2 separate regions of the Homo sapiens genome follow, and region 2 is linked to region 1. The links are contacts of gene promoters, found by promoter capture Hi-C in human tissues and cell types (Jung and others, 2019). All regions are on one chromosome and are shown on one strand. The core of a region is centred on a gene start or on the middle of the fragment in contact, and the rest is flanking DNA. Distances in the headings are between cores, read along the strand shown.

The links. The method cuts DNA at HindIII sites, captures the fragments that hold promoters and counts their contacts. A contact is called where the count stands out against the background at its distance.
Region 2: a fragment that was not itself captured here is called in contact with the fragment with the promoter of EPS15L1 in region 1 in 1 of the 25 tissues and cell types used here (aorta).

What each region holds. Positions count from the first base shown.
Region 1 is chr19:16,470,142-16,474,885 of GRCh38, reverse strand. It overlaps EPS15L1 (epidermal growth factor receptor pathway substrate 15 like 1), which reads left to right and starts at 2,916. Exons shown (of 24, transcript NM_001258374.3): 1 at 2,916-2,973. The coding sequence starts at 2,941. RefSeq lists silencers at 2,685-3,084, 3,145-3,364 and enhancers at 3,445-3,594, 2,827-3,738. The HindIII fragment of the contact is 15,921 bases long and covers 1-4,744 here.
Region 2 is chr19:17,166,256-17,170,836 of GRCh38, reverse strand. MYO9B (myosin IXB) reads right to left here. Exons shown (of 40, transcript NM_004145.4): 11 at 2,773-2,894. Among named protein-coding and RNA genes, the nearest start is that of USE1, 47 kb to the left of the region's middle. The HindIII fragment of the contact is 6,459 bases long and covers 1-4,581 here.

The DNA of each region.
Region 1 (4,744 bases), core at 1,667-4,166:
CTGTGTTGCCCAGGCTGGAGTGCAGTGGCGCGATCTCGGCTCACTGCAAGACCCGCCTCCTGAGTTCATGCCATTCTCCTGCCTCAGCCTCACAAGTAGCTGGGACTACAGGCACCCCCCACCATGCCCGGCTAAATTTTCGTATTTTTAGTAGAGATGGGGTTTCACCATGTTGGCCAGGATGGTCTCGATCTCCTGACCTCATGATCTGCCTGCCTCGGCCTTCCAAAGTGTTGGGATTTCAGGCGTGAGCCACCATGCCCGGCCTTTTTTTTTTTCTTTTTTTTCTTCTGAGACGGAGTTTTGCTCTTGTTGCCCAGGCTGGAGTGCAATGGTGCGATCTTGGCTCACTGCAACCTCCCCATCCCAGGTTCAAGCAATTCTCCTGCCTCAGCCTCCCGAGTAGCTGGGATTACAGGCACCCGCCACCACGCCTGGCTAATTCTTGTATTTTTAGTAGAGATGGGGTTTCACTGTGTTGGCCAGGCTGGTCTCGAATTCCTGACCTCGTGAACTGCCTGCCTCGGCCCTCCAAAGGGCTGGAATTACAGGTGTGGGCCACCGCGCCCAGCCAAGTTTGGATTATTTTTACAAGATGATGCTGGAGAGTTTCTATGGCCACCACCATTCTAGACTCTGATACTGGCACTTAAAGCCTGCATGCTACATTTCCTGGACGCCGTTGCCAATTGGCAACGTTCCTGTCATGCTTTATTAGAACAAAGTTGGGAGGCAGAAAGAGGGGAGAAACCATTTTTTCAGACTTCTGCCAGTGGCTTAGGTGGTGGTGACAACAACAACTGTGACTTTCGCAATCATGGTGGAGGCAACTGTGGCTAGCAAGGGTGAACACATCTGGGATCCTTCTGTAGGCACAGTGATTGTGGGTTATGGGTCCTCCTGTGCTTTATTTATTTATTTATTTTGAGACGGAGTTTCGCTCTTGTTGCCCAAACTGGAGTGCAGTGGCGTGATCTCAGCTCACTGCAACCTCCGCCTCCCAGGTTCAAGTGATTCTCCTGCCTCAGCCTCCCGAGTAGCTGGGATTACAGGTGCCCACCACCACAACCGGCTAATTTTTGTATTTTTAGTAGACACGGGATTTCATCATGTTGGCCAGGCTGGTCTCAAACTTCTGACCTCAGGTGATCCATCCACCTCGGCCTCCCAAAGTGCTGGGATTACAGGCGTGAGCCACTATGCCCAGCCACCTCCCCTGCTTTAATCTTTCAGCTCTAGAGAGGCTAGCAGCCTCATATAGTTATGAATCTTTAGGTAAACTTACCTTCCTCTTTTGTTCTTCCAGTACTTCCAACACTTTTATACTCAGTCCCCTGTAGTCGTTTATGTATTCATTTATTTTTATTTATTTATTTTTTAGACAGAGTCTCGCTCTGTCACCTAGGTTGGAGTGCAATGGTGAGTTCTCAGCTTATTGCAACCTTCCCCTCCCAGGTTCAAGCAATTCTCCTGCCTCAGCCTCCTGAGTAGCTGGGATTACAGGCACCTGCCACTGCACTGGGTTAATTTTTGTATTTTTAGTAAAGATGGGGTTTCTCCATGTTGGCCAGGCTGGTATCAATCTACCTGTCTCAACTGGATTGCTGGGATTACAAGTGTGAGCCACAGAGCCTGGCTCAATCCCCTGTATTCAATATCCTCTGTTTGAAGTACCTAGAAGGACTTCTCTTTTCCTTATGGAATACGTACTGATAAAGCACTCAAGACTGTTAAAAACCTTCATTACTCTATTGATGTAACAAAAGAAGCTGAGGCAAAGTTAATATAAGTAGAGAGTTTGGGCCAAGGTTGAGGACCGCAGTCCAGGAGACACAGATTCAAGTTGCCCTGAATGTATGCTTTGATTAGCAACAGTTACAAGTGGGTTCTTTTTGTTTTTGACTTTGTTTTGAGACAGAGTCTCACTCTGTCACCCAGGCTGGAGTGCAGTGGTGCAATCTTGGCTCACCGCAACCTCCACCTCCCGGGTTCAAGTGATTCTCTGGCCTCAGCCTCCTGAGTAGCTGGGACTACAGGCATGCACCACCACACCTGCTAATTTTTGTATTTTTTTTAGTAGAGATGGGGTTTCACCATATTGATGTTTCACCATACTGGCCAGGCTGGTCTCCAACTCCTGACCTCATGACCCTCCCACCTCGGCCTCCCAAAGTGCTGGGATTACAGGTGTAAGCCACTGTACCTGGCAACAAGTGGGTTCTTGTCTTATTTATTTATTTATTTTTGAGACAGAGTTTCGCTTCTGTTGCCCAGGCTGGATTGCAATGGTGTGATCTTGGCTCACTGAAACCTCTGCTTCCTGGGCTCAAGCAATTCTCCTGCCTCAGTCTCCTGAGTAGCTTGGATTTCAGGTGCCCGCCACCACAGCCAGGAGGACGCCTTGCGGGGCAGGGTGAGGGGGGCAGGGTGCGGGTCCCCCAAATTAGCGCGCACACACACACACACACACACACACACACACTGCGATCCTAGGAACAGGGCGCTTTGCGGGGCAGGGTGAGGGTCCCGACCCTCCGCGGGGTGGGCGACCGCCTCCCCAGGCGCACTGGCAGGGGGACGGCATCCCTAACAGAGAACCAGGCCTCGGCATGGGCTGGAGGGATGACACAGCATGGTCGACTCGGACAGCGGCCAGCGGCATGAGAGTCCGAACAACGTTGGAAGGAGGAGTAGGGGAACGGGCAAGAGAGCACGGAAGACGCAGATGCCTCAGGCCCAGCCCCTCCAGGCTGCGTGTGGGCGGCCCCGCCCCTGCCCCCGCCCCTCCCGGCCTGACTGCACATGCGTGGCCCTGTCTACGGCCCCGCCCTCTCCCGGGACAGGCGGCCTGCGCACCGCCCTCCCGTCGTCCCAGTGCGCACGCGTGGCTGCAGCCCCGCCCCCGTTCCCCCGGCGCTCGGAGCCCGAGTCCGCGGGAAGATGGCGGCGCCGCTCATCCCCCTCTCCCAGCAGGTACGGGCCGGGCGGGCCTGGGGGCGGCGCCGGGGTGCGGGGCGCGAGGCGAGCGGTGCGGCGAGGCTGAGGCGCTGGGAGACTCAGCCAGGCGGCGGCGGGGGCGGCGCGTGCTGAAGGGCTTGCGGCGGGCGGGTGGGCAGGCGGCCCTGAAGGTGACAGGCCGGGACCCGCGGCCTCCCGTGCCCGAGCGACCCTCGCGGGCACCGGCGAGGCGAGGAGGTGCGCAGCGCGTGTCCTCTCCGCCCAGGGCCCGGACCCTGCCGCCGCTGAAGCTCCCAGGCCGGGGACCCGCGGAGGCGCTGGGCTGCATCCCGGAGGGGTGGGCGAGGGGTGCGAGCGTTTCTGTCGGCGCGGCGGCCCAGCGAGTCTTTGTCTCCCTCCGGTCCCGGCGCCCGGGCGGGCAGGGTCCCGCCGGAGCCCGGACCCGTCAGCAGCAGTGCGATCTCAGACTGATCCCCTGCCTCCTTGGAAGCTGCTTCCGCCACCCCTGCACCGGGCGCAGATCGTACGTCTCCGGGCGCCTCTCTGTGTCCTCAAATTCGCCTGATGCGCTTATGAAGGGGCAGTATCGATAGCGCGACACAGACATGCGAAAAAGAGCCATGCGTAGGCAGCTCTGTTATTTGGGAGAGACTTTCATTCATTCATTTTCTATCCATCCCTCAAATGTGCGTTGGGTCAGGTGCTGGGAGCGCTGCATTCTTCCAGACAGACAAGGTCGCTGCTTTCCTGGAGGTGACACTCGTGGGAACTAGAAACTACCTGTGTTATGCTAATCACAGCTGCCTTTATTTGCTGAATACCTGTGTTGTGCAAAGCACCATATAAGCATTTTGCTAGAATGATCTAGCACAGCATGGTGATTAAGAGTGAGGACACAGGGTCAGATCATGTGTTCAAATCTTGGCTCCAGCCCCGATTTCTCTGTGCCTTTGGTTGAAGCTCTTAGCCATTCCACCCATCAGTTGCTTCCTTTGGAAAATGGAGATATAAAAATGTGTTGGGATTATGTGAAAATTAAGCACGTGAAAAAGCGCTTAGAACAGTGCCTAGCATATGAGAGGCACTCAGTGATCCTATAATTACTGTCATCATTTAATCTCTGCCAGATTTGGACGTTTGGGAGTAGAGACCGCAGCAATTAAGAATTCCAAACCCAAAGAGAGTTGATAGGCCGGTTGCATGCTTGCATGACTGGTTAGCTGATCCAAGGAGAGAGAAGTGCACAGCTAGCCAATTTGCAACACTGTCACTAAGTTAACAGTGCTAAAACCCGGTGATTATTAATTAGCAAGTTCTTGTTACTGACATGAAAGTGCTCTGTAAACTGTTAAGTGTCCTACCGATAATAGGTGTTAATAGCTAAGTGCTACAGTTTAGAGTATGTAGTCAGGGGGTGGGGGGCGGGGAAGGCGGGAGTCGGGGGAAAATCACCTAAGATCATTTCATGAGAAAGCACTAAGCACTCCCAGTTTGGGAGGCGTGGATCTTTCTAAAACTTCCTGTCCAATTTTTTTTTTTTTGAGATGGAGTATTGCTCTGTCACCCAGGGTGGAGTGCAGTGGCATGATCTCAGCTCACTGTAACCTCCGCCTCCCGAGTTCAAGTGATTCTCCTGCCTCAGCCTCCTGAGTAGCTGGGACTACAGGCACGTGCTACCACACCCGGCTAATTTTTGTATTTTTTTTTTAGTGGAGACGGGGTTTCACCATTTTGGCGAGGCTCGTGTCAAACTCCTGAACTCGAGTGATCCACCCGCCTTGGCCTC
Region 2 (4,581 bases), core at 1,007-3,506, 700 kb before region 1:
TTTTTAATTTTTAGAGCTGGGGTCTTGCTCTGTTGCCCAGGCTAGAATGCAATGGTACAATCACAACTCACTGTAGCCTTGACTCTCTGGGCTCAAGTGATCCTCCTGCCTCAGCCTCCTGAGTAGCTGGGACTATAGGTGCATGCCACTGTGCCCAGCTAGTTTTTTTTTTTTTTTTTTTTTTTTTTTGTAGAGATGGGGTCTCACTATGGTGCCCAGGCTGGTCTTTAACTCCTGGTCTCAAATGATCCTCCACCTCGGCCTCCCAAAGTGTTGGAATTACAGGTGGGAGCCACCGCACCTGGCACAAATGCTCTTATCTGAACATTCTCTACCTGGACCCCAGCCTCAGAGGGATGTGTCTGTCTCCCTGACCTGGACAGGGACTAGGTTTGAGGCAGGGGATGTGCCTCATTCATTTGAGTCTCTGGCCAGCCCCTTGGAGATGTCATTGGCAAGGGATGGGTCTGATAGAGCTGCTGATAAGACAATATGTCCATATCTTAACCCCATACCACCAACTTTTGAATGTGACCTTATTTGGAAAATAGGGTCTTTGGAGATGTAATTAGTTAAGATGAGGTCATTAGCGTGGGACCTAGTTCCATATGGATGGTGTCCTTCTAAAAACAGAAGACAGGGTCAGGTGTAATGGCTCACACCTATGGTCCCAGCACTTTGGGAGGTCAAGGTGAGAGGACTGCTTGAGCCCAGGAGTTCAAGACTAGCCTGGGCAATACAGGGAGATTCCATCTCTACAAAAAAAAATTTTTAAGCAGCCTGGCCAACATGGTGAAAAAACCCCATCTCTACTAAAAATACAAAAATTAGCTGGGCATGGTGGCAAGGCACCTGTGATCCCAGCTACTCGGGAGGCTGAGACACGAGAATCGCTTGATCCTGGGAGGTGGGGGTTACAGTGAGCTGAGATGACGCCAATTAACTTGAGCCAAGATGGCGCCACTACCCTCCAGCCTGGGCAACAGAGCAAGAAGAGCCTGTCTCAAAAAAAAAAAAAAAAAAAAAAAAAAAAAGGAGGAGACAGGATTGAGATGAATGATGCAGACACAGAGGGAAGAAGTCCATGTGAAGAGGAAGAGGGAGGCAGGGACTGGAGTGATGTGGCCAAAAGCCAAGGAAAGCTTGGACCCCTAGAAGCTGGAGGAGGCAAGAAAGGGTCCTCCCTTGGAGCCTCTGGAGGCAGCACAGCTCTGCTGACAGTTTGACTTTAGACTTCCAGCTTCCAGAACCATAAGAGAATAGATTACTGTGGTTTTAAGAACTCCACCTCCCGGGTTCAAACAATTCTCCTGCCTCAGCCTCCCAAGTAGCTGGAATTATAGGCACCCGCCACCATGCCTGGCTAATTTTTGCATTTTTAGTAGAGATGGGGTTTTGCCATGTTGGCCAGGCTGGTTAAAAATTTTTTTGTAGAGATGGAATCTTTTTTTTTTTTTTTTTTTTTGAGACAGAGTCTTGGTCTGTCACCCAGGCTGGAGTGCAATGGAGTGATCTCCGCTCACTGCAACCTCCGCCTCCCAGGTTCAAGCAATTTTCCTGCCTCAGCCTCCTGAGTAGCTGGGATTACAGGCGCCTGTCACCATGCCCGGCTAATTTTTGTATTTTCAGTAGAGACGGGGCTTCACCATGTTGGCCAGGCTGGTCTCCAACTCCTGACCTCAGGTGATCCGCCTGCCTCGGCCTCCCAAAGTGCTGGGATTACAGGCGTGAGCCACTGTGCCTGGCCGAGGTGGAATCTTTCTGTGTTGCCCAGGCTGGTCTTGATCTCCTGGGCTCAAGAGCCCACCTGGCTTGTAGCGGTTCCTTAGAGGAGCCACAGGAAAGTAGTTCGGTATGTGTCACGTGATTTCAGTGACTACAACTGGGTGACCCAGAATGAGGTGCCTTATTGACCTGTCTGCCTTCACAGCGCCCTGTGGACTGTGGGGATGAGGGAGGAAGGCTCAGAAGTGAGACCAGAGCCCAGCAGCATCTGGGTCCCAATTCCACACACTGCACTGCCCTTTGTAACAACTCGCCAATCCTGTCTCTTGCTCCATTGCCCAGGCTGGAGTGCAGTGACACGATCACAGCTCCCTGCAGCCTCAACCTCCCAGGCTCAAGTGATCCTCCTGTCTCAGCCTCCTGAGTAGCTGGGGCCACAGGTATGCCCCACCACGTCTGGCCCCAGTGTCTAGTTTCTAGGCATAGGCCCATAATCCTTTGCTGAAAACTCCTGGCGGATGTGCCTCAAGTGCACGAATTAATCACACGTGTTGATGTTTTCACAATGAGGTGTTTGTGCATTTTGCACACACGAGCTTGGGTTTTGTGGTCAAGTGAAATGAACAGACACAAGTTCTCAGCACAAGGTCTGGCGTGGTGGCACACGCCTGTAATCCCAGTACTCTCGGAGGCCAAGGCGGGAGGATCCCTTGAGCTAAGGAGTTCAAGACCAGCCTGGAAAACATGACGAAACCCTGTTGCTACAAAGAAATACAAAAATTAGCCGGGTATGGTGGTGTGACCCTGTAGTCCCAGCTACTCCAGAGGCTCACGTCAGGGGATCACTTGAGCCCAGGAGGTCAAGGCTGCAGTGAGCTTTGATTGCACCACTACACTCCAGCCTGGGTGACAGAGTGAGACCCTGTCTCAAAAATAAAAAGGCGCTCTTGGGAAAGTCTGGATTTGGGGTAAGGCTCTGGGGGCTGCAGAACCTGACCCAGTGCCCATGCGTAGATGTGCCGGGATGGACGGGGTGTGGACACTCACTTGCTCTCCTCGTCCAGCAGGTAGAAGAGGCCCGTGGGTTTCTTGCTGATGAGATGGATGCAGCCGACATTGTCTGTGTAGCCGATGTTGTGCCACGTGATCCCCTCGCCCTGATATTCCTCCTGCAGGGGTGGCGCGGGGTCGGTAAGTTTCTTATCTCCCAGATATGTAATATCTACATAACATATATTGCATACAGGTCGAGTATCCCTAATCCGAAAATCTGAAATGCTTCAAAATAGGAAACTTTTTAAACTGATGCGTGGCTTAAAATTAACTCTAATAGGGCTGGGCACAGTGGCTCACGCCTGTAATCCCAGCACTTTGGGAGGCCAAGGCAGGTGGATCACCTGAGGTCAGGAGTTTGAGACCAGCCTGACCAACATAGCAAAATCCCATCTCTACTAAAGATACAAAATTAGCCAGGCGTGGTTGCACAAGCCTGTAATCCCAGCTACTCAGGAGGCTGAGGCAGGAAAATCGCTTGAACACGGGAAGTGGAGGTTGCAGTGAGCCAAGATTGCGCCATTAGTCCTACTCCAGCCTGGGCAACAAGAGCGAAACTCCGTCACAAAAAAAAAAAAAAAAAAATAGCTCTAATAATACACTTAATTTAACATGATATATCCAAAATGTGATCATGTTAACATGTAACTGACATAAAAAGTAACTGAGAGGCCAAGGTGGTAGGATCGCTTGAGGCCAGGAGTTCAAGACCAGCCTGGACAACATAGCAAGATCCTGTCTGTGCAAAAAATAAAAAGTAAAAAATACTTTACTGAGGCTGGAGGATGGCTTGAGTCCAGGAGTTTGAGACCAGCCCGGGCAATATAGCAAGACTCCATCTCAAAAAAAAAAAAAAAAATCCAAAACTTTTGGACTGCCAATGTTATGTGATGCTCAAAGACAACGCTCATTGAAGCATTTCAGATTTTGGATTTTCAGATTTGGGATGTTCAACCAGTAAGTATAATATAAATATTGAAAAATCTGAAAAAAATCCCAAACCTGAGACACTTCTGCTCCCAAGCAGTTTGGATAAGGGATCCCCACACTGTAGGAACATATTTATGTATCAATAGGCATGTTTACATATAAATGTATCTGCATGTGTGTGTTCTTTGCAGCACTATTCACAATAACAAATAAGTAATCTAAATGCCCACTAATGGATAAAGCAAATGTGGTGCATATACATCAAGGAATACTACCCAGCCATAAAAAAGGAATGAGGTCATGTCCTTTGCAGGAACATGGATGGAGCTGGAGGCCATTACCCTTAGCATACTAATGCAGGAACAGAAAACCAAATATTGCATGTTCTTATTTATAAGAGGGAGCCAAATGATGAGAACACATGGACACATAGAGGGGAACAACACACACTGGGGCCTATTGGAGGGTGGAGGGTGGGAGGAGTGAGCGGATCAGGAAAAATAACTAGTGGGTACTAGGTTTAATACCTGGGTGATGAAATAATCTGTACAACAAACCCCCATGACACAAGTTTACCTATGTAACAAATCTGCACATGTACCCCTGAACTTCAAAGTGAAAAAAAAAAACATAAATATATCAGTAACAAAATGCATATGAGTAAATCAATATGAATACATTAATAGTTACATAAACTTACTAGATAAATGAATGATTGTAAACAGGAAACAAGAATGCACATTCTTAAATACTGATCACAGCATGGCACTTTAAATATCACACAAGGGCTGGGCGTGGTGGCTCACGCCTGTAATCCCAGCACTTTGAGAGGCTGAGGTGGGCAGATCACCTGAAGTTAGGAGTTCAAGACCA